Regions from separate parts of the Homo sapiens genome. Here regions 1, 2, 4 and 5 are each linked to region 3. The links are contacts of gene promoters, found by promoter capture Hi-C in blood cells and fetal thymus (Javierre and others, 2016). All regions are on one chromosome and are shown on one strand. The core of a region is centred on a gene start or on the middle of the fragment in contact, and the rest is flanking DNA. Distances in the headings are between cores, read along the strand shown.

Evidence for each region. The method cuts DNA at HindIII sites, captures the fragments that hold promoters and counts their contacts. A CHiCAGO score of 5 or more calls a contact.
Region 1: a contact is called between a fragment that was not itself captured here and the fragment with the promoter of NCOA7-AS1 in region 3, in 1 of 17 cell types (M1 macrophages). The highest score is 6.3, in M1 macrophages.
Region 2: a fragment that was not itself captured here is called in contact with the fragment with the promoter of NCOA7-AS1 in region 3 in 2 of 17 cell types (M0 macrophages and M1 macrophages); the score reaches 5.8 in M0 macrophages.
Region 4: a contact is called between a fragment that was not itself captured here and the fragment with the promoter of NCOA7-AS1 in region 3, in 1 of 17 cell types (M0 macrophages). The highest score is 7.0, in M0 macrophages.
Region 5: a contact is called between a fragment that was not itself captured here and the fragment with the promoter of NCOA7-AS1 in region 3, in 4 of 17 cell types (M2 macrophages, M0 macrophages, M1 macrophages and 1 more). The highest score is 16.4, in M2 macrophages.

What each region holds. Positions count from the first base shown.
Region 1 is chr6:127,280,583-127,285,619 of GRCh38, reverse strand. The region is part of intron 2 of RNF146 (ring finger protein 146); the gene reads right to left. Among named protein-coding and RNA genes, the nearest start is that of RNF146, 16 kb to the right of the region's middle. The HindIII fragment of the contact is 1,288 bases long and covers 890-2,177 here.
Region 2 is chr6:127,317,473-127,322,599 of GRCh38, reverse strand. The region is part of intron 3 of ECHDC1 (ethylmalonyl-CoA decarboxylase 1); the gene reads left to right. LOC105377994 (a long non-coding RNA gene) reads right to left here. Exons shown (of 4, transcript XR_001744334.2): 1 at 1-5,127. It also overlaps the pseudogene RNA5SP217. Among named protein-coding and RNA genes, the nearest start is that of ECHDC1, 24 kb to the left of the region's middle. The HindIII fragment of the contact is 1,662 bases long and covers 2,010-3,671 here.
Region 3 is chr6:125,816,037-125,821,446 of GRCh38, reverse strand. NCOA7-AS1 (NCOA7 antisense RNA 1) reads left to right here and starts at 2,589. Exons shown (of 3, transcript NR_126386.1): 1 at 2,589-2,637. The region is part of intron 2 of NCOA7 (nuclear receptor coactivator 7); the gene reads right to left. RefSeq lists an enhancer at 2,863-3,364. The HindIII fragment of the contact is 4,548 bases long and covers 1,115-5,410 here.
Region 4 is chr6:127,298,027-127,303,093 of GRCh38, reverse strand. All of the region lies in intron 5 of ECHDC1 (ethylmalonyl-CoA decarboxylase 1), which reads left to right. Among named protein-coding and RNA genes, the nearest start is that of RNF146, 34 kb to the right of the region's middle. The HindIII fragment of the contact is 1,869 bases long and covers 1,613-3,481 here.
Region 5 is chr6:127,337,308-127,341,963 of GRCh38, reverse strand. The region is part of intron 1 of ECHDC1 (ethylmalonyl-CoA decarboxylase 1); the gene reads left to right. LOC105377994 (a long non-coding RNA gene) reads right to left here. Exons shown (of 4, transcript XR_001744334.2): 3 at 3,095-3,164; 4 at 305-477. Among named protein-coding and RNA genes, the nearest start is that of ECHDC1, 4.0 kb to the left of the region's middle. The HindIII fragment of the contact is 3,511 bases long and covers 544-4,054 here.

The sequences.
Region 1 (5,037 bases), core at 284-2,783, 1.5 Mb before region 3:
AAAGTTAAGTCATGAAAGCCTTATTGTGTTATTGTGCCCTGCCAAGGAAACATCTAATTTTTTTCCCCATGGTAAAAAAAAAAAAAAAAAGACATTTTAAAAGGGGAGAAAATAATGGAGTAAACCACTGATAAGTAAAAAAGACTGAGAAATAAAGATGAAGATGTCAGAGATTGAAAGCTTAAAATGAATGACAATCTCTCTGCCAGCTAATTCTGCCATTCTAAATGGGTCAGTAGTTACAAAAGATATAGTCAACAAGAATGCTTACGCTCATCAAAAATTGAAAAACAATAATCCTAGGCTATCATCACAGCACATTCAATCTTCAAACAATCCTTTTTTTTCTTTTTACTGCCTTTTCTGTGTTCTTGGTTCCTCAATAGACAAGGCTCAAAAAGATGGCAATTTTCTAGTAAAGGAAGCAACACAGTAAGTTTTTAAAAAGATGGCACATATCTAGTAAAGGAACCAACACAGTCTCAATGGAAGAACTGATCACTAAAATGTTTAATTTCCAAATTATTTTCAACTTTTAATAACATTTCCAATCAATTCCTTTACCAGAAATTCTAGGTTATAGACATCAAGAAAGTACAACTTTCTCCTAACCTATGGAAAGTTCTAAGTCAGGGGTGTCTAATCTTTTGGTTTCCCTGGGCCACACTGGAAGAAAAAGAATTGTCTTGGGCCACACATAAAATGCATTAACACTAATGATAGCTGATAAGCTAAAAAAAAAAATCACATAATGTTTTAAGAAAGCTTATGAATTTGTGTTAGGCCGCTTTCAAAGCCATCCTGGGCCACATGTGGCCCACAAGTTGGATAAGCTTGTTCTAAGTAAACCCTAATAGGACGTCTTAGTATGTTAAGCACTATAAAAGCTTTCAAATATTTTGAGATAAACACTTGCCTTCAAAGATCTTGTAACTTGAAACAACAATAAGTTACAAAAGAAGGCATATGTTTTTAAAATAGCCAATTACACATTCCCTGCCTATTTCCTCCCCTAAAAGAATTGGCTGTGCACACATTTTGTTAGGTTTTCAGAAACTTTCATCCCTTTCGATTTAGGTCAAAAAAGTTAGTTTCCATAAAATTCCTGAAAATCTTTTTGTTCCAAGTTCCATATTTATTTAAAGCTCCAATTAAGAAAAAGAAAACAAGAAAGTGATCCATTTACAAGTAATAATTTAAGAAAGATTCTACTCATGATTCTATTCATGAGACTAAATAGAAAAATGGGCTGATGACCACCATTACTTTGGAAAAACAACAGCAACATCTTCATATAAGAAGTCTACATCTTAAACCATCTAAGTACCTTATGAACAAAGGACAGGATCATAAACTGAAAACATAAATAAAAACAGAGTCTGGTAAAATGAAAACAAGACACCCAACATGTCACGTGGACCAATGCCATGCTTTTAAATACATAATTCCAAACCTATTGTATTTGCTTTAAGTAAAATGGGCCCAAGAAGTCAGTTTTCCATCACATACAGCTCGTTTATCTACAGAAAAAAAAGTTTCCAACCTAAAAACATTATCCTCCACCCTACTTAATATGATTAATATTTTGCATGACTCTTACTCTTGCATTTATGAATAAACCAAAACACATAATTTCAAAACTAAGAAAGCAATTACAATCATCCCAGGAGAAGGCATGAATTATAATAACATAATTGGAAAGGCAAAACAATCCTGTTTGTGCAGGTATTTTGGTTCCATCATCAGAATGAAGTGAAGTTGGACAAAGTTAATCTGCAAACAATGGACACCAGACAGCTAAATGGTCATTATTTCATCTGAAGCACTCTTAACTATCAATTTGCCATAGCAATTTATAAATTCTGATTCTGTTTAGCCCATCAAGTATACTGTTAGTCTATCACCAACTAACAAATGGGCAGAAAAACTTAGTGATATTTCTTATTTAATTCTGAATGAGGCACATGCAATAAGTAAGATAGAGATAAAATGTGTAACAAGATAGACACAAAGTAACCCCAAACTGCTAGTCTACCTATAAGACATACTTCAAGGCTTTTTAAAAAACCATTTTAATCTACCCTACACAGTCTCTGTTTTGCAGTTCCAATGATCTTAAAATAGGTGGGAGACTAAATGTATGCAGATGATCATACCAATATGTAAATAAGAAAGCTTTTCCCCTCCCTTTGTGTAGAGCAAGTATTAATGCTAATCAAAAGAGGTATTCCCTATCTCATAAATGTCTCAGAAAATTCTAATTTTGAAAAAGGGAATTTATTTCCAGTTTACTAAACTAAGAATTTAATACACAGAAATTTGGAGTGACGTTAGTCCAATTCTATTAATAAGTATAATACATCATTTACTTTCAAAGACGTTTTTACTGAATTCTTCATGTGATATTCCAACTTTTAAGTATAAATCCCCTTCTTCCAATAGATAAACCATGTGAAATATTTCTGCCAGACTAATAAGAGTCTATTAATACTAAGTCTTCTTCTCAAGAAGACAAAATATAGAGGGGTATGGGCAGAGTTAGTGGAAATCTCCAAGAACTCAGATTTCCTTGAAACTTCTTGGACAACTAGTCAAATGAAAGGCAAAATTATTATAAGCAAAAAAGATCTTTAGTATGTGTAGTATTCAAGAAATTTTTAGCTTGCAATAAAAACTCCAAATATTAAAAATCAGATTTTTAAAGTCTGAATTTAGAATCCAATTACAGACACACAAAAAGGGAACAATCCTACATATAATTTCAAGGGGCTTAAGGATTTCTATGAAGCTGGTCCACATATGAACCACTAATGAGACAAGAGGAGTTCACTGAAAGGTTTTACGTCAGGAAATAACAGCCAGTTTAGTAGCTTCCAGACCATTTGAACAGCAGGTTGGAGGAAAGTTTGGTAATGCAGGAGGAGGTATGGCGAAAGGGAAACTAGAATATCCAGGTAGTAATGCAAGTATAAGATAATTAGAGGGAGGTTGCTGATGTAAGTTTCCAACAATAGAATAGAAGAATGCTAAGGAAAAAGAAATGAAAGCATTTGATTACTGATGGATGGTGACACATTCACCAAAATTCAGAATTTGAGGAGAGTTCTGTCTCAGACATAATGACTTTATTAAGGTCTCCAGGTGGAGATAGGTAGATGACAGCTGAATTTACTAGTTTGATACTCCAAGAATAAATCTGAGCTGAAAAAAGTCTGGTGACTCACCAACACATACATGGTCCTTGGAGCCATGAAAATGAGTAAATGCCCAAATTAAACCTGTAGAGAGAGCAGTCAAAAGGGCCAACCACAGAATCTTGAATTACTCCAATATCTGTGAGGTAAAATAGCCAGGAAGGGGTGTAAGGAATGGTCAGAGAAGAACAGGAAATAAAGATAGACCACCACCACAAAAGCCAACAAGGGAGACATTCGCAAAAAAGAATAATCAAGCAAGTTACTCTAAGTGACAAAAATTTCACCATACAATTCACTTTTGTGTGGTGCAAAAGTTGTGAACCCCACACACTTAATAGCTATTTTGATTTCCTAAACACCATCAATCCCAGTAAACTTTTACTCGGCCAAGACATCTTTCTTTCCCTATTCCCCAGAGACTATCATAAAACTTCTCCCTCCTAGTTTATCGATATACTAACACCTGTATCACTGAGAAATTAGGTAAGTCAAAAATAAATCCTGAAAATCTATCTTTACCTTTACTGTCTTATCATTATTCCTCCTGGCTCAATATGGGGTACTGCTACTTGTTTACAAAGCTAACCCCTCAACATCTAGTAAGTACTGTCCCCTAACTCCTCCAAGACTGATCAATATACTCTGTCCCTAAGTATCAAAATCAATTAAGATTGATTGTATGTTAAATAAATGTAAAATCTGGTAATATAGTAAGTACTAAATAAATGTTCACTCCCTGCACTTATTTTGAAGTCTCTTTCTCCTACCCTGCCTTCCCACATATTACTGTTCCCTGACTCCTCTAAAATGTGTTGATGATTAGGCAGCTGTTTCCCTCCTCATTCCCTTGGCTTGAAAAATATTTCCTAATTTTCTTTGACTGTTAAAATTCTACTCATTCTTTGAAGGCAAGGTGAAACTTATTCTGTTCATTCTGAACCCTTCAGATGAAATTAATCTCTTCCTCTGTTCAGTTTCAATAGCATCTGATTGTTACCTTAATATGGCATCTATTCCACTGTTTGTTAATTACATACATGTCTCATTTACTGGATCACAGTAAGTTCCTTGATGACCAGCACCTAGACTATCTGACCTATTAAGATTTTAAAAAATGTATACAGATAGATAAATGGACAGGATTAAATAAAATATATATTTTTAAAGACAAATGCTTATTAGTATCATTTTTCAATTATCAAATTTTCAATACTGAATAAAAATAATATGGTCATACTTTTAATAATAAATTAATTATTGTTAATACATATCATTACATGTAACCAGTATCATACTGGAAGAGTAGAAAGCAAGAGTTTTATGTCAAACTGGGAAAATGTGAAATAGCATCTACCAAGGTCACTCTTGCTCTAATAAGAAAAACACTGTAATTAAAAGTCAATAAAATATTCACTACATTTTTCATGAATGACATCAAGTTGCATAGGGCTTATATGAATTTAGAAAACAGAAATATATTCATAGTGAAAAATGTTTCATCAATACGGTGAAGTTAAATATGGACAAATCCAAGGTAGTGTGTAACACTTTAAAGCATATCATGCAAAGATAAATGATGAAAGCACAACTAGTAAAACTGGGGATCAGAGTGAAGTGATATGAATAAAATGCAGTGATGTATTATTACATTAAAAAAATCAATTATGTAGAAATTCCTTTAATTTAGTGAAACAAGTTTTTAGTAACTAGAGTTTTTATAACCTAGTAGTCTGTCTTATTTACAAAAGCTAGTACTACTTGCCTAGCTTAGTTATTTAAGAAAATTATTATGTAAAAAGAAGGTAGAACCCAGAGGACCTGGAGATCTATTTCAGCATTC
Region 2 (5,127 bases), core at 1,591-4,090, 1.5 Mb before region 3:
ATGCAGGAAAACATGGAGAGAGTTTTTATTCCAGCTTCAAATAAGGAATCACTTAGTAAAGTTCATTCTTTCTAGTACCTACATTCTCCAAGTAATCTGCTCTTTTCAGTGCCTGAAGTAAATCTTGGTTAACAGCTGAGGAGTAGTATTACTGCAAGTGTTCGTCACTTGTTGCTGTATACATCTGTCAGTCTTATCAAGGAAATGTGGAATGGTGAATCTGCTTTACAATGAGTATGCCTAGAACTCAGAATCTTATTTTATTTAAAACATTGATCTCGTTTTATTTTATTGAGACAGAGTCTTGCTCTGTCACCCAGGCTGGAGTGCAGTGGCAGCGATCTCGACTCACTGCAACCTCCGCCTCCTGGGTTCAAGTGATTCTCCTGCTTCAGCCTCCTAAGTAGCTGGGATTACAGGCGTGGGCCACCATGCCCAGCTAATTTTTGTATTTTTAGTAGAGACAGGGTTTCACCATGTTGGTCAGGCTGGTCTCAAACTCCTGACCTCAAATGATCTGCCCTCCTCGGCTTCCCAAAGTGCCAGGATTACAGGCATGAACCACCAGGCCTAGCTACTTTTTTGTTTGTTTATTTTGAGATGGAGTCTGGTTCTGTTGCCCAGGCTGGAGTACAGTGGTGTGATCTTGGCTCACTGTGACCTCCACCTCCTGGGTTCAAGCAATTTTCCTGCCTCAGCCTCCCAAGTAGCTGGGATTACAGACACCCGCCACCACACCTGGCTAGTTTTTGTATTTTTAGTAGAGATGGGGTTTCACTGTTTTGGCCAGGCTGGTCTCGAACTCCTGACCTCAGGTGATCTACCTGCCTCAGCCTCCCAAAGTGCTAGGATTACAGGCGTGAGCCACTGCACCTGGCCCGACGTCCAGCTATTTGAAAAAGCATTTTATAGGGTAGATGAATTCTTTATTATCCTTTAATGAAATCTCTGAAGTCATAGTATAAGAAATATATAGCATAAAAGTAAGCACTTTGAATATGGATAATTTTAAGAATTGTAACAATACATATAAAGTATGGAATGTGTTTATCACATTATGATTTTAAAATTAACAAGAACTAGAAATAGTTTATGTAAAGTTCCCGATATTTCCATGTTTCCTATAAACTATATTCCTATATACTTGAGAAGGAACTATAAATCTGTGTAAAGCTGAAACTTAAAATGGCCTCAGGACTTTTGAGGCTTATACATGTATTATATATGAGTTACAGCTGCAACATATAAATGCATCTACCCCTCATGGCTGAAACATTCTGAAACTTATCATGGCTTTAAGTTATAAACAGTTTGTCTGTTAGTGAGGCTCTTCTTTATCCAAATACTTACTCTTTGTTGTTACAGATGCATCACTAGCATCTACTTACTTGCTGAATTTGCTTTCTGAGGATGATGAGATAACTGAAATATATGACAATTTTAGCAATTAGATTATATTCCCTTCTAATAGTGATAAAATGCTTGGAAGTGATTAAGTGGCTTTTTTATCATAAAAATATAATTATTTTGATGTTTTTACTACTGTATTTTTTCAGTTTTAAAAAGCTTTTTATTAATGTAAACTACAAAATACAGGTAAAAGCAGAGACTAATACAGTGAAACCCTCATGTACCCATAAGAGCATCAACCCTATCAATATTTTATTATATTTCTTATCTATTATTCCACTTTTTTTTTCTTTTAAGTGTAACTGATCCCATAAGAAGTTGATCGCGTCTTGGTATGCTTTGGTTATTGTGCAGGAAAAGAGCTCCAACTGTCCCTATTAGGCAGTTAATTCTTGGTTCAGATGGTAGAGGCCAGGAGATCCACTAGGATAACACAAACATTAACCCTGCTGAAAAGTTATGTATTGGAAAGACAAAGGAATAAAATAGAAAAAAATATATTTAAATATTAAGACTTGGATTTGATGCCACAGATGTCCTGTAGGCTATAAGAAGTTTCTTTTCAGAGGGAATAAGTAATCAAAGTGCAGTTATAAGCTTCAGAATATGGAGAAATAAAAACCTGCTTAGTCTTCAATGGATCAGTATAATGCCTCAAGGAAAAGTCTGGCATTTAGAAACCTTTCTGTTCTTAATCTACCTTGAAGACTATATCCTCCTTTGTCCCTTAACTTTCCTTGTTACTTTTCTCCCAATCTATTGTTCCTTCGATCTCTGTTGCTTATGTTTCTATGGTGACCTCAAAGTTCTTGTCTGACTTCCTTGTGTTTGCTACTACTATTGTACCATACCCTGATTAATTTACAGACAAGCGGCCAAGCACGGTAGCTCACACCTGTAATCCCAGCACTTTGGGAGGCCGAGGTGGGCAGATCACCTGAGGTCAGGAGTTCGAGACCAACCTGGCCAACATGGTGAAACCCGTTTCTACTAAAAATACAAAAATTACTTGGCCATGGTGGCAGGTGCCAGTAATCCCAGCTACTCAGAAGGCTGAGGCAGGAGAATCACTTGAACCCAGGAGGTGGAGGTTGCAGTGAGCCAAGATCACGCCACTGCACTTCAGCCTGGGAGACAGAGCAATACTCTAGCAAAAAAAAAACTATTTTAATTTTCTCTAAGCTCTTCCATGTATTTTGAGGAAATTAATAAATCCATACAACAAGCACTTAAGAAAGGGCTTATTTTTGTTTCTAAATAAGATACTTCTACAGGCTGGGCATTTTTCCACTCTAAACATGGCTTAGAGTACATATGATGTTAATCATTCCTTTTGGCATTTTGGTTGAGCATTGTTCTTCTTATCCTTGTTTTATGAGAAGGAGCTAGAGGAGTAGGGTTGGATCTCAGGTATCATCCAGATAGCATGAAAATATCACTGTCTGCAGCAACTTTGAAAACCTTGTTTTAGTACTTCTCAGCTTCCAGCTTTTATACATTAGAGCAGGTCTAGCTTTTTACTGGTTCCTCACCCACAGCTTACTCTATCACAGATATCTCTTACTGGCTTATTTGCTTTCTTCAACCCAGTGAGAGGACAGAGCATTTAACCATTGTGGGCTTAATAACTTTGGAGGACAAATTTAATGAAATCTTTCTCATCTCTAGGGCATGTTGGCCATTACTGCTTAAACTTCTGTTTTATGATACACTTAAAACCAAAACATACTCATTATCTATTGCCAGTATTGTTAGTAATATTAATAATAATGATAGATAACTTTTATTCTCTTACTGTATGTCAGACACTGTTCTAACCTTATTTTGTGCCATAACTTAATCATTACTAGCTCCCTTAATAAAATATATACTACTGTTAGCACAATTTGCAGATAAGAGACTGTAGGACAGAGAGGTTAAGCAGCTTGGGCAAAGTCAAACTAATTAGAAAGTGCTAGAGCCCAGATTCAAATGTAGGCAGATTGGCTTTAGAAACTGTGCTCCTAACCGTTTACTTCATACTGCTTCTAATAGACATTTTTAGCGTGCCTTTTGTCTTTTGAATGAAAATTATAATAGTACACAGGCTAATAATTTGCTTCACCTTTATTTCTACCAATTCTAGATACTTCATTGGAATTTTATGTAATCTAAATGTAGCAAGAGCAAATATGCATATTAAAATTACTTGATATAGGTAATAGAACAGATTTTATTGGAAAGGTTTTTAGCAGAGAATAAACCAGTTTACTTTGAAAGCTTTTTAGCTCCTCGTGCCTGTGTTAATTTTCTCATCACTTCGTGAGATACACTGATCTTCCTGATAACAGCTTTGGATTAGGAAATTCCTTCCACATTGGCTTTTACTTTTTCTTGACTGCATTTGTTTTATAAATCAACATAGTTCTCCATCTAAAATTCATCTAATTTTTTTAAGTTCAACAAACACTATGTGCAAAACATTTTACTAGCGTCTGAGGAGGGGGAAGGCATACTGTCACCATCAAGGGACTTACTGTCTAGACCTAGCAAATGCCACCTTCCCTTCTCCTCTCTAAAGCCTGTCTAACTACCCCCATCCCAATTGAAATGAATAATTTCTTCTTTGACACTCTTCTGAGTTTGTTCAAGCACTTTGTATAATACCTGTACTTTGATAGTTGTATTTCTGTATCTCTGGCAAAATTATTGAGAACTTCTTAGGTTCTCTAGTCCCCATCTTGTAGAGATGATGTGTCTGATAATGCATCTAAACACATATTCATACAACACAATTTATAAGTACTATAATTAAGGCATAAAAATAAAAATACTGTTGAAACACAAAAGAGAAAATTGTTATTGTGAGATTTAGAAAATCTTGATGGAAAAATATTATATGATCTGGGCATTCCTTGAAATAGGTAGAGAGAAGGACAGCCTATTACAACTAGTAGGAATGATAAAAGCAAAGACACAGGAGCCACAATAAGTGTAAGGTGTTAGAGGGATGGCAAATAGTTTGTGTGGTGAAATTAGGATGCTTGGAGGAGGGGTATGGTAATCAATAAAGTTGATAAGATAGTTTGGGATCAAGTGGCCTTGCCAAGAAATTTAGGTTTTATTCTATAAGACATCATCATCCTACAGGAAGGTTTATCAGGTAGCAGGATGGAAGATTATATTTAAGAGGAAAAAGAAATTAAATACAGAAATCAGTTAGGAAGCAAAGCTGTTGTCTCCAGCCATACCACCCTGAATGCACCCAATCTTGCCGATCTCAGAAGTTAATCAGTGTTGGGTCTGATTAGTCCTTGGGTGGGAGAAAGCAAAGCCATCTTACTGTACTAATCAAGGCTTGAGTAACACAGGTATGAACTAATGCAGCAGCAGCAAAAATATAAAAGAAGGGATTGATATTTGAAATATTTCTAAGGTAGATCCGAGGGGAAGTACTTGGTAACTAACTGAGTGTGGGAGAATTGTGAAACGGGAAAGTCAAACATAGTACCAAAAATCTGAGCCTTATTGACCGCTAGCTCAGAACTCTTACACTAACTTTTTCCACTAACACAGAACACTTATGCAATCTTTTATAGAGTTTCTAGGTATATTTTCATCTTTCTAAACATCCTTTAAGTCAAATAGTGCAATTTTTTTTAATTTCTCATTTCTTATGAATGAGGAAACTGAATTACGTAGTCATGACTTGCTCAATTTCATGTTGTTATTAAGTGG
Region 3 (5,410 bases), core at 1,340-3,839:
ATAAGCCCCGTTTTGCAACTAAAGGGGCACATGGCAGCACTGCAGAGCATAAGCTCTGGATGGAGAAGGGAAGACCTGAGTTCAAATCCTGACACGCCTATCTTATCTCAGTGAAGTTATTCAACCCCTTTGAGTATAAATTATCATAGCAGTCAAATTATATTTAGGGATGAACTTTTTTTAAATCAGATGTTTGGTATGAAGATAATCTGGATCACTTTTTACAAAAGCCTTTTTCATATCAAGGCATGCAGAAAGATGATAATACTTCTACTCATCCCTGGGGTAAGATGCTGATCATAGCTAAAGATGACCAGCCCAGGTCTCTGACAAACCCAATCCCTGCCTGGCCACTCTGAGGACCAAGGGGGCCAGTATCACTGGCACGCCGCTTGACATGACGGTTCATCAAGCCACTCAAGTGGTGAGGCTCTGATTACCAATTAATATATCTAAAAGTACCCTGGGATAGAGCCAGCCTATCATGGACCCTTTCACCTCATGGGCTTAGGGTCCAACTGTTAAATAAAAGACTGTTAGGTTTCTCAAGGCCCTTTGACTATATAACTCCACTTCATTATATCCCAGAACCTAACTAACTGTGCTTATAGCAAAGTATCTTTGGGAAATGATATGGTTCCAATTTGGATTGTCGTTAAGTGTTCCTTCTTCCCTGATCTGAACAACAGGAGCAGCTCATGGGCTGAAAGTGGGAGGTCAAGATGAAAATTAGGTGAAGATGTAGGTAGACACAGAAGTAAGATCAGGAATGATTTGTTATTAAAGGAATGTGTGAGTACTCACTGTATCAGGTACTGTTCGTATATTACCCTCAATCTTCATAGCCATCTTGGTTTCATTTTACTTGAACACGAAAGCTACAAAGTGTACTATTCACACAACAGAGAAAGCTATACAGTGGGTTCAAATCTCCTCTGCCATGGAAAAGAGAATAAGGGGACCAGCTGTTCAGCTCTGGCCCTCCTTGCTGGGTCCCATTTGAGCTTCTCTCCAGTTCTGGCTGGTTGGGATGTCTCCTTCTTCAAAAGCATCTTGTTAGTTGGTTATTTTTAGCAACATTTAACAACTGAAGAAATGTAAGGTAAAGGAAGCTTAGAAGACTTGCCAGAGGTTATACACTGGAGTGAACTGCAAACACTAGGTGTTCTGCTTGTGGGTCAGAGGTTCAAGGGTGAAGAATTGCCAGGGCAGAGGCTGGAGATGGGAGCTAAGAAATGTTCTACACTTTGCATCCTTTGTCACTGAGAATGATGACAGAGGTGGTGCTGGCTCCTACTGCTGCTCTGAAAGGCTGGGTTAAGAGGAAAGCGGAGGTGGGAGCAGCAGTTCTGCTTTTCATGACAACCAGGGAATAGGGGAGGTGGGAGCCAACAAGGGACCTACATGAACACCCAGTCTGTGTCTTCGTCTATATTACTCACTGTTTACTCCCAGGCTCTCACACCTTATCAGAGGGGAAAAGTAAACCTCCCACAAAACACCATTTGGTTCAACTACAGATGTATTTTGGATATCTTCAATCAACGCTTGATCCTGAAAAAATGCTTTCAAAGAATCTTCAACCAATGGCATACAAGGACCTACTCGGAAATCACAAAAGCCAAATAATGTCAAGCAAGTGTGTAAGAAGACAGCCCTGTATGGCAATACTAAAGAAAATTTTGCATTCTAACTACAAGGGGAAGGAAGAGTCAGCAGGGGTGTAACAAATGACACATGATAGTCACCCCAGAGGATAGCATAAATTGTACACAGTACAAATAGTACAGAAAGTATAATTTGCTTTAGTAATTCAGTTTTTCATTTGGTTTTCAAGACCTGTCAGGGATCAAGAAATTAATATAGACATATACTAATTTTGCATATATAAATTATTTGCAAAACCATTTGTGAAAAAGTTTCACAAATCATTCAATCTAGATTTAACAACTGTTATAAAACTATCCTGAAGCACCTGAAAACCAGTTGGACCAGGGTCAGAAAATCCAAAAAATTCATCAGGTCTTATCCAGAATTACTCTATCTAGTAGCAGTATTAATCCACCCCTCTATTTAGAGTTACACAGGCATATTTCAAGATAAATTATAAGAAAGGAAAGACTGGGTGACCCTCAAATCACTAATTTCAATCCAAAATTATTAAAATAGGGTATTTTAAACTCTATTTTGATGTTAAAGAGCGAAACGTCAACAAAACAGGTTTGGCAAAGGACTATTTATCAAACACAGTCACACAACGATTATGAAACCACATGATAAGATAGCACACAAAGAAAACATTGGCTATTTAACTACTCAGGAGGAAAAACTAGGTGTTCCTAGTTTTTCCTAGGTGGAAGGGGGAAGCAGGCTAAAAAGCAGTTTTTAGGGTTTCAGATATGTAATTGTGGCAGCAGGCACAGCATCAGGGTAAATCTTCCTTTTGACTTCCTCAGAACACCAGTTGAGATTTATGTAAGGTGGTATAATTTAGTTTAGAGAAAACTGAGATTGCATCAGTTTGGCCTCACCCTTGGCCTGACATTTTATCCTTCTCTCCAGAGATCTTGCTTGGACTGCCCTTAAGTACGCTGCTCCAGAGAACTCTGCTCTACATTGTCAGAAACCAGCTTTCAAGTAAGTTCTGTTGCTAGTTCCACATGGTAATTCCACAGTTAAGTCAGAAGGCATTTGAAAAGATGTATAACTTTGGATGGCTCTTTTCTGATTATAGGCTGAAGGGGGTTCTTTTCTCTTTGGTTTGCCTTTTGCTTTTAATAGCTTGACCATTTCTGGCTTCCACTGCATTGTAAGAGCTAAACTACAGGTTTGTCAGTCAGTGTTTCTCTCTCTGTCTCTTTCTCTCTCTCCCTGCTCCTACCCCCTCTTCTCTCCATTCTCCTCTCTCCATCTCTCTCATTTCCTAGTTACAAATCATGTTGTCTTACTGTCTTAAGAGCATCACTGATTTCATCCTTGTGCCACTGTCCCTATGCTCCCAAGATCACATTTCAGCATTTTAGGATACGTTTTTTGTTTCATTTTTAGAATACTTTTCAGAAGAGGTCATGATAAGCAAGACAATTTTACATTTCTGAGTTGAAAAAACTGTGCTGCTCTTCCAGAACAGTTTTGGTTTGTATTCTCAGTTTCAGGGGCTCCCCTGACTCTACATTTTAGGAACAAGAAGAGGTTAACATTGAGCAGGTTGTTCATGAACCGGCAGTTACCTTTACTACAGGAATCACTTTGGATTCAGGCTGAGAAGGCACTATAGCTCTTAAAATCACTATGTAGGGCAAGTGAAGAAGAAAGAAAAGAAAGAAGAAGAAAGTAAGGAGGAGGAGGAAGGAGGAGGTGGGAGAAAGAAGGAAGGGGGAGAAGCGGGAAGGGGGAGGAGGAAGAAGAGGAGGAAGAGGAGCAGGAAGAGGAGCAGGAAGAAAGGGAGGAGGTGAGGAAGGGAGACGGGGAGGAAGGGGAGGAGAAGCATGACCACCATTTTGACCTAAACTCATATCTTATCCACAAATAAATTCAAAATGGATCACAGACTTAAATATAAAACATAATGCTATAAAATTTTCAGAAAAGAAAAACAGGAGAGAATCTTCAGAACATACAGCTAGGCAAAGAGATCTTAGAATTCAGACCAAAAGCACAATTCATAAAAGGAGAAACTGATAAATTGAACCACATCAAAATTAAAACCTTTTGCTCTGCAACTCTGTTAACTGGATGAAAAGACAAACTACAGTCCGGGAGAAAATATTTGCAAATCACATATCCAACAAAAGACTAGAATGTGTACAATTCAACAGTAAAAACCTAAACAATTCAATTAGAAAATGGGCAAAAGATAGGAAAGGAGATGCCACTAAAGAAGATACACTATGGCTAATAATAAGCACATGAAAATGTTAAACTTCACTAACCATTAAGGAAATACAAATTAAAACCATAATGAGATATCACTACATACTTATCAGAATAGCTAAGATAAAAATAAAAAATATTGACACCACCAAATGACAATGCAGACAAACTGGATTACTCAGACTTTGCTGATGGGAATGTCAAATGTTACAACCATTCCAGAAAAGAGTATTGCACTTTTTTATAAAACTAAAAATACACTTATCTTTTGACCCAGCAATTGCACTCTCAGACAATTATCTCAGGGAAATGAAAACTCATGCTCATACAAAAACTTGTACATAAATGATTGTAGCATCTAGCATCTTTGTTCATAAATAGCCCAAACTGGAAACAACCTAAATGCCCTTCAATGGGTAAATGACTAAAAAGCTGTGATTCATCCATACTATGGAATGCTACTGTGCAATAAAAAGGAACAAACTATCGATACATGCAACAGCTTTGAGGGATGTCAAGGGAGTAATGCTGAAGGGAAGAAAAAGCTAAATGCCAAAGGTTACATACTATATGATTCCATTCACCTAGTATTCTTGAAATGACAAATTATAGTGGTTGTCAGAGGAGGCAGGCAGATGGAAGGAGTGAGTAGGGATACAAAAAGGTAGCATGTGGGATCCTTTTAATGCAACTGTTCTGTATCTTGACTGATGGTGACCACAGAAATCTACATGTGATATAACTGCATGGAACTAAATACACACAAACACACATACAATGAATGCTCTGAATAAGGCTGGTGGATTGTATCAATATGAATTTCCTAGTTGTGATACTGTACTATGGATAAAGAATACAGGGTATCTATTACTCCTTACAACTAACTACATGTGAATCTAAAATTATCTCAAAATAAAAACTTTGGAGATCTTATTTATTCTAAATATCCTATCTTTCTGGTGCCTCATCCATTAGATGCCTGATGTCTTCCTTCCCTAATCTGGTTACTCTCTGTAGTCATAATAGCAGAAAATATTTTACTACAATTGGTAGTTTAACTTGTGCTTCCCCAAAACCTTATTCATGATTTACTATTCCTAACTGGAGCATGCCTTTTGGAGATGGCCTTATGTTTAATACTGACTCTTATGCTGCATGAAATGGACAAAATATTTTCTGAGTCTTAGTTGCATCACTGGTAAAATGGAGATAAATTAACCGATGTCATAGATTTATTTTGAAGGCAATTAAAATAATAAGTAAAACACTCAGTACATAGTAGGTCCTTAAATTGTTTCTGTCCTTTTCCCATTATCAACCTAAAATCTAGCTTAATTACTAGATAAAAACATCAACAACAAACTTTGGTTTTGGCTCCAAGGCTCATGTTTAGAAAATAATAAATGCATCTCTAATGAGCACAGCCTGGGGACTGGGGATGGAATGAGGCTAAATTCAGTTCTTAACATGTATTTCAATTTAGGAGAAACATAATGTTTTTAAGCCTATGTTCTCTGAGTCTGAAAACATTCTGGCT
Region 4 (5,067 bases), core at 1,298-3,797, 1.5 Mb before region 3:
AATATGTCACTTCATGCTCACACAAATAGAGATTTTCTAGTTTTTTTGGTATATAAGACCGTTTACAGAAATCCTAGCCTCTTGAAAACTAGTGTTCAATAATGCACAAAATTCTTATGCACAATAAAAAAAAGTTATTTTATATGACAGTGCCCTCTGCTGTCATCAGTGCAGATTGCATTAGAATGCTGCTATTATTACATTTTATTCTGCGAAGAGGAAGCAGTCATTGGCTTTATGCTTGATATGAGACTAAACAGGAAATGCTGTATGTGTGAAAGTATTAAATGCATTCCTCACTTTACACTGAATACAGGTAGTTATGAAATATATAATTTCAATACATATATAAATATAAAACGTACATCTAAGTATATAATTAAAAGAATTTTAAGGCTGGGCACAGTGGGTCAGGCCTGTAATTCCAGCACTTTGGGAGATCGAGGTGGGTGGATCACCTGAGGTCAGGAGTTCGAGACCAGCCTGGCCAACTTGGTGAAAACCCGTCTCTACTAAAAATACAAAAATTAGCCGGGCATGGTGGCAGGCGCCTGTAATTCCAGCTACTCAGGAGACTGAGGCAGGAGAATCACTTGAACCCGGGAGGCAGAGGTTGCAGTGAGCTGAGATGGCGGCACTGCACTCCAACCTGGGCAACAAGAGCGAGACTCTGTCTCAAAAAGAAAAAAAAAAAGAATCTTAAGCTACATGCAAGTGTGCATTATTACACTGAAAAATCCTCTGTGTAAAAGGAAATGAAAATTAAGACTTTTTAGATGTTATTTGGAACAAGTGAAAACCCTCTAACATAGATTCCGGTGTTCACCTTTATTAGACTTTTGTACTATTCTTCATATTGATTTCTCATCTATGTTTAAGTGTAGTTAGGGTTTAGGACAAAAAAGCACAATAGCAGGAAAAATAATCAGAGATTATTTAATCCTTTAATACTGCTAAATTGCCTAGCTGTCATTCTCTAATTGAAGAAAATGTAATGCATCCTAGAGCTTCATTAAATATTTAATTTTATTTGTTACAAGATGTCTGAGGGTACTGCCTACTCTCAGTATCTGGATATACCAGGTGCTTTTGTTGAGAAGCTTCTGATGAAAACCTATCCATTTTTGAACCAGCTTTTCTGAAAGTGGTGTCTGTTTATTAAACATATTTCAGCACCCACATGTGCTAGGCACAGCCATTCACAAACCTTGTGTCTTGGTTTTTTGTTTCATTTTTCTAGTAATATGTTTTTGTTATATTTTACAAAATTATTGGTCTGCAATCGATTAGAAAGTTTCTTTAAAAATGAAGAAGAAATTGATCCTTGACCAGAGAAATTTGACAAGCACTGTCCTAGGCTACTCAGCCCTTTTAAAACCCGCATACCAAAAGCAACTATAGTTCTTAAATGTTAGAGGCTAATAGAGAGGATTGCATACTGAATGAACTACATTACTAGCCCCAGTTTCCAGGAAGTGATAAATCAGTACAAGTTCCTCTAGCTGATTTTTTCCACTTAATTTTATCAGTACCTCATCAGTTACTTTCTATGACAGATTATTTTAATTATTTCCTAAGAATGTCTGCTTGTTCTAAAAAAACACCGAAAGCTTTCATAGCGTTTGCTAAAAAGATAAGTTCCTTCTTTATATGTGTTGGCCCTTTTCGCTTGTTTAACTTTCTTACCTTGGAGAATTGCCTGGAATTCACTCAACTGACATTTTCATCCATGCCAATGGAAGTACTTCAGCAGATGGAGATACACTTAATATGAATATATAAAAGAAATGAACTCATGTAGCATTCTAACACTGTCCCCTTCCCGCAAAACCCTGTGAGCACCAGCTGGTAATAGATGTAATGTATACGTATGTCGGAAACACTCAGTTCTACTTTGCATAGATAGACCCTCACTTGAGTCATACTTTTCATGTAAAATATTCCAAGAGAAAATGGCTTTTAAAAAACATTTTTAAAAGTAAAAGACTAACATGAATTAAAAATTGGTATTTTTCAATGGTCAGAATCTAGTCAAGCATTATGTTTCCATTTTAGTGACAAAATTAATGTGAGGAAATGAAAAGCTAGAAATGTGGTAATATAGCCTCTCATTTTTTAATCCACCTTGACAAATTAAAGATATTTAGAATGAAATATAAATTAAGAAAATGCTAATACATGTAGTTTTCTATTGCTGCTATAACAAACTACCACAAATTCTGTGGCTTAAAACAACACGTTATTATCTCACAGATGTATAGGTCTGAAGTCTAGCTGGGCTCAGCTGGTTTTTCTAAACCTTGTCTCATGAGACCAAAATCTAAGTGTCAGTTGCAGTGGGCTCTGAAGACTCTAGGGGAGGATTCATTCCCAGGCTCACCCAGGTTCCAACTGGTAGAATTTGGTTACATGCACTTGAAGGACTGAAGTCCCTGTTTCCTTGCTGCCAGATGGGGGATGAGTCTTTGCTCCTAGATGCTTTCTGAATTCTTTCTCATGCTTTCCATGTGGCTCCTCCAGCAGTGGTGAGTCAAGTTCCTCTCATACTTTGAATCTCTCTTATTTATCCTTATGCTGCATTTCTCTGACTACAGCTGGAAACATTTCTCTGCTTTTAAGTGTTCTCATGATTAGATTGGGTCCACTCAGTTAATCCAGGATAATTTTCCTATTTTAAGGATTTAACTTTAGTTACATCTGCAGTCTCTTTTGCCATGTATGGTAACACATGCACAGTTGCCAGAGATTAGGTCATCTCTTCGGGGCCAATCTACCTACCACGTATGGGCTTGGCATAGGGAATTTAATTGTCAGATTTGTTGCTAACTTTTATATTTCTGTTTGATTGCCAGTGAAAAGTGCTAACTTTGTTACTCTAAGTTAATTTTGTAAACTGTATTTTTATTTTTTTAAATGCTTGCTTAGATGCTTTTTAGAAAACAGTAATAGTACCCACATACAGTCATGTATTGCTTAATGATAGGAACACATTATGACAAATGTGTCATTACGTGATTTTGTTGTTGTGCAGACATCATAGTATGTAGCTAAACAAACCTAATGATACCATCTAGGGTGCAGCTTACTACATACCTCGGCTATATGGTATAGCTTATTGCTCCTAGGCTACAAACCTGTAAAGCCTGTTACTGTATTGAATACTATAGGCAGTTGTAACACAATGGTAAGTATTTGTGTATCTAAATGAAAAGGTACAGTAAAAATACTGTATAAAAGATAAAAAATTGAATGCTCATATAGGGTATTTATGGTGAATCGAGCTTGCAGGACTGAAAGTCTCTCTGGGTAAGTGAGTGAGTGAGTGGCAAGTGAATGTGAAGGCCTAGGACATTACTGTACACTTAGAATGTACTCCTTTTACTTTTACACATAAAAAATTAAATGTAAACAGCCTCAGGCAGGTCCTTCAGAAGAAATTCCAGAAGACAGTATTAACTGTAACTTTTGTACTATATAAGCTTTTTAATTTTAAAAAACTTTTTTATTCTTTTGTAATAGCACTTCATGTAAAACACAAACACATTTTACAGCTGAACGAAAGTATTTTCTTTTTTTATATCCTTATTCTATAAGCTTTTTCTATTTTTATTTTATTCATCTTTTTTAAAAGTTTTTTTTTTTTTTTATTAAAAGCTAAGACAAACACACACATTAGCCTAGGCCTACATAGAGTCAGGATCATCCATATCATTGTCCTACCCCTCCACATATATCATTGTCCTACCCCTCCACATCTTACCCCACTGGAACATCTTCAGGGGCAGTAACATGCATGGAGCTGTGATCTCCTATGATAATAATGCTGTCTTCTGGAATTCCTCCTGAAGGACCTGCCTGAGGCTATTTTACATTTAATTTTCTACATATAAAAGTAAAATAACACTCTAAAATAACATAAAAAGTATAGGTCAGCTGTGGTGGCTTATGCCTGCAATCCCAGCATTTTGGAAGGCCAAGGCAGGAGGATTGCTTGAGCTCAGGAGTTGGAGACCAGCCTGGGCAACATAGTGAGACACAAAAAATAAAAAAAATAGCCAGGCATGGTGGCACACGCCTGTAGTCCCATTCCTGAGGGAGGATGAGGCAGGAGGATCGCTTGAGGCCAGGAGGTCAAGGCTGCATTGAGCCATTATGGCACCACTGCACTCCAGCCTGCGGGACAGAGTGAGACCCTTTCTCAAAAAAAAAAAAAATATAGTACAGTAAATACCCGAACCATTAACATGGTCATTTATTATTATCAAGTATTATGTAACATACATAATTGTATGTGCTATACTTCTGTACAGGTAGCAGTGCAGTAAGTTTGTTTTTAACAGCATCACCACAAAAATGTGAGTAAAGCATTGTTCTATGACATTACAATGGCGATGATGTCACCAGGCTATAGAAATTTTTCAGCCCCATTATAATCTTATGGGATCATTGTCATACAGTCCATTGCTGACTAAAATGTTGTTATTCAGTGCATGACTGTATACCTTATTTATAAAGGATTCTCTGATATAGACATTATTTTAAACATAATTATACCTGTAGTATGGATGGTTAGCTTGGTTTCAAGATCAAGATTCCAGAATGTGCTTCAGGAAGTACTTAAAACACTCATTCCTTGATTCTACTTTCTAATTCCAGTTATTCTAAAAACATGGGAAAATAGAGAAAAATCTCTCAAAACTACCTTAGAAAATAGAAAATGACAAACTCAGACTGCTTGGCTTTTAGCATCAACTTTTGGCAAAAAAAAGCATGTACACATTTTTATATGTCTAATATTTAATATTTTACTATTGAATTTGGTGTGAGAGAGAAACTGGAATTGTATTTTTTAATTTTTAATTTTGAAATAATTACAAACTTGCAGGAAAGGCGTGACAGTAATACAAATAATTTCCCTGTGCCATTCATTCAGGTCCAACAATTTTTAACATTTTGCTATTGTGTTTTATCTTTGTGTATCATATATTTTTTTCACCCAGACTAAGGGTAAATAAAGTATTGTACTGTGTCCAAAAGTTACTTACATTAGTTCACTGTTGTTTTTGT
Region 5 (4,656 bases), core at 1,050-3,549, 1.5 Mb before region 3:
TAATGAACCTTGAAAGGTAGTTTATGTTATGACAGCCTACAACCGAATCAGAACTTTTACAAACAGGCGATATACAGACAGTCTGAAATCAAATGCTTCTGATTTCTATTACGTGCTCTAGGCTAATTGTTTTCTTTTTAAGTATGAGTTTGCGTTAGTCTTCTGGATTTAGTGATTACAGTATAAGGTGAAACAGGTAAAGGCTTTTAGAGAACATCTCACTTATTTCCTGTGCACTAAAGGGAAACAGATCACCTTTGCAGAACTTGAAAAAAATGGGAAGTGCGACCTTTGATCTCAGATGGACTTTCTTTCCTCTTTTCAGTGGCTTGGTAGTGAGCTTGTTCAGCTCCACTGAATCTTCTTTGTGGTGGGGCTGCAAGACATCCTGCATGGCAAGTTTTAAACATAAGTTTTACCCCGAAGAAAGCTTATAAAATTGTAAATGCTTCAGAACCTTTTCATCTTCCTGTGATTCTGGAAGAAATCCAAAAAAAACCAATCGTTTAACTACATACTTCTACAGAACCTGAATCTTAAGCTTTGTTCACTTTATACTATTAGATACTATAGTAGGTTAATAATGACTAACACCTTGTCATCTCATCACTGAGCTTTTGTCTAAGATAGTCTCTGAATTTAGAACTGGGACGAAAGTGTACATAATAGGCTATTATAAAATTTTTAGAATTGGATTTCTAAACTTGGGGTCAGTGAATCTAGCAGGCTTAAGCAGTGTTCTCAGGTTTTTCTGGCACAGACAAGGAATATAAGAGGAGGAGAGAAAAGGAGAGACAGTAGTGGGAGGGAATAGAATGAGAGAAGATAGAAAATATGGAATTAATAGAGAAAGGATACATGAAGTATTACAAGATTTTCTTGGAAAAATTGGCATTTCAGTGATGGATCAAAGATGTCTAATGAGGCAAAATACTACTATTACTTAAATATTTAATGTTTTAAAGATTTGAGGATAAAAGGATATAGATCTGATGGCGTTCATACTAATTGCTGTAGTGTTGATGTTGGAGAGAGGGGTAATGTATCAAGACAGAGCAGACAGACCCTTTACAATGAGAGCAGAAGATATGTTGTTTACTGATTCTACTTTCCCACAAAATGCTAATGCTTTTATAAGTCCCTCCTCCTTATTTTCTAGATTAACTCCTTGTTTCTTCCTCTAAACAGAGGATTATGGCAGACAGGCAAAAAAAAAAAAAACTTTTAAAGCAACTATCTAAGTCCTTACCAAGTTTCTTTAGCACTTTTATTCTAAAGTTATCAAGGTGGAAATTGGGGCCTCTGCCCCACATGTATCTGCTTCATTGGGTTGTATCTTCATACCTGATTAACGGCATATTCTAGGCAAAAGCAAGACCCTAGGCATGCTATGTTTGGCTCTGAATATGTAGGCCTCCCAGGTTTATTAGCTGAACTGGTACATGACCTTGACAGCTTATTTTCCCTAGACTAGAAGCATTCCTAAGGAACCCTGAGCTCTAGGCTATTTGGCCTTCTTAGAATGGGACACTTCCCAAATTGAAGGCAGCCCTAGGTTGCAGAGAGGAGAGAGGAGGGAGAAAGGGAGAGAGGGAGAAAGCAAGTTCCCTTCATCCTCAGTAAATAGAATGAAGAAGGGAAGGACACAGTGAGTCAAGTCTTATCTCAATACCTACTGGGTAAATTGCCTCTCATTCTGAGAAAGTTATAGAAAATGCATCAGGTTATCCTTAACTCACACCTAACAGTCTTGTGAGAAAATCTGTTCAAATAGTTAAAGTAGGAAGAATACTACTAACTAGACCCTTATACGATATGTATTATATGTAGATATGTAGAATGACTTTGTATTGTCTATTAACCTCATTTCTTAAAAAGTGTCAATATTTTTATTAGTGATCCAATAGAGATTATGTTGCATATAAACCCATTTTGTAAATATGAATAAAACCAGACAAGGAGCTCTTGCCTTCCCTTTCTGAAGAGGAGCAGAGATTCCTCAGCTAGGAGTGATGGAGAAGGTGTGGCTCTTTGGCAAGCTGACCAGAGGCCAGTGAAAGATTATTTATTTATTTGGCTGACTATGATACCCTCACTTGTAGCCACACCCCCTGGGTTTGCATTTTTTAAAAACCCCAACAGTGAAATAGTTCTTTTTTCTTTTTCTTTCTTTCTTTTTTTTTTTTTTTGAGACAGAGTCTCTCGCTCTGTCACCATGGCTGGAGTGCAGTGGTGTGATCTTGGCTCACTGCAATTTCCGTTTCCTGGGTTCAAGTTATTCTCCTGCCTCAGCCTCCTGAGTAACTAGGATTAGAGGTGTGTGCCACTACACCTGGCTGATTTTTGTATTTTTAGTAGAGATGGGGTTTCGCCATGTTGGCCAGGCTGGTCTCAAACTCCTGACCTCAGGCGATCTGCCCACTTTGGTCTCCTAGAGTGCTGGGATTACAGGCATAAGCCACCGTACCTGGCCTGAAATAGTTCTTTTTTTCTTATTTTGTAAATATAGATATTATCTTTAGTTTAGAAAATGATGACTAGGTACCATAATACCTATATAGTAATAACCACATTATGTGTCATTTAGTTCCACAAAAATTTAATGTAAAATTCTGCGTTAAGAGCTGTAAGATGCAGTCCCTGTCCTGATCACCCCTAAAATGCTACAGCTTATCTCGTATGTACCTTTCTGTTATGTTTTCTGGTTGTGCATGATTTTTTAAGAAATATCATTACCTTTAATAAGGACCTTTGCTTAGCTGCCAGACTTGTCAACAAAGAAATTTCAGATATCTATAGGCTGTAATTATTGTTAGTGGCTACTGATGCAATATGTAAAGTAGAGGTCTGAAGAAACTAGTTTTGCAACTGGCAGTTTAGGAGATTGGAAGGAATTCCTGAACAGGACATCTGTCAATATTTGGAATGATACTCTTCTATTTAAAAAGAAAAAGTTTCCTGAGAAGTAAATGTAGCACACATACCTAGAGAGTAAAATGTATAAGATGAATTTAAAGAACAACAACAAAAGAAATAACTGTGGATGCATTATCTAGGTTAAGAAATAGAACATACCCGTATTTTGAAACTTAACTTTTTCAGTACTGGTTAGGTGACTCAACTGGTATTTTTCTTCATTCATCACATCTGTGTTTCTTTTCTTTCTGGCCAAATGCAATGTAACATAAATTTCAACTCAGTGAACAAAAGTCATTTGTTATAGAAGTAATATATAGCTGTGAAACACTAGTATTGCACTGTTTCATAACCATAAAAATTCTGGTTACACATATGTAGGATAATTCTGGTTTTATATATATGTATGTGAGTATATACATTTGATATTTACTTTACTCCCTAGCAGAGCTGGTATGTTGCTTGATTTTGGTTGTGCTTCTGCTTAGAATTTTAAAAATTAGAAAGAAGGGCAATAAAGCATCATAATTCCATGCACTGATTTAATGTTATTGGATTCATTTATACCTAAAGAAAATCCTTAGACTACATGATAAAGGTTTACTGGTGGAAAAAAAAAAGATATCCTTTTATGAAGTTAAGATTATACATTAAATTTAATGGAACTCTCTAGTAGAGCTCAATAAAAGGAGATACTTTGCTCTATTTTCAATTAGATATTTGAGTTATTTTTGCTTTATGTGTGCATATTTTGTTTCTCTGACAAAACTGAAAACTTTTAAAGATGCTTTCTCTCTGAAATCGCTAACAATGGGGTGATCACTAATAGGAATTCAGTAAATAGCCATTGAATTGCTACAGAACTACCTCTTACCAAATGCTCTTAACATATGCATATATGTCTATACACTTGGATCCCATTTCTTGGCCAGAAAAGTCTACATATAAATGTAAATTTAATGGTCCATATGCCAAGAAACTAATAACTGTTTTTATTTCTGAGAATGCAGCTAAATATCTACTTACCTACTTTAAATAATCCAGTGAAGAATACCATCCTGTTTGAAAATATTTGTCTTAATTGCTAATCCAGTTACTATGTTTTTAAAAATTTGCCTTTAAAAAAGTAAAGAAAGCTTCAGAATTCATTTTGAATGATATATTTTGGTATATTTCCTATTTTTCTCATAGACTTTGACCACTGAACTTCGGTCTAAGGGTAGTGAAAGGGGAGGTGAAACAGAAAGAATAATGGTTGAGTATGGGAGGGTTATGATTATGAATGGAGATTACAAACATAAATACATCCTGTCATGAGAATATAGGTGTTGTTGATGCGAACAGTCAAACTCTGTAAAATATTTTAAGAGATTTATTCTGAGCCAAATATGAGTGACCATGGCCTGTGACACAGCCCTCAGGTCCTGAGAACATGTGCCCAAGGTGGCTGGGGTACAACTTGGTTTTACATATTTTAGGAAGGCATGAAACATCAATCAAATACATTTAAGAAATACATTGGTTTGGTTCAGAAAGGAGGGACAACTTAAAGCGGGGGTGCTTCCAGGGTATAGGTAAATTTAAACTTTCTGGTTGACATTTGGTTGAGTTTGTCTAAAGACCTGGGATCCATAGAAAGGAATGTTCAGGTTAAAGATAAAGGATTGTGGAGACCAAGTTTTTTTGTGCAGAGGAATCTCTCAGCAGACTTCAGAGAGAGCAGGTTGTAAAATGTTTCTT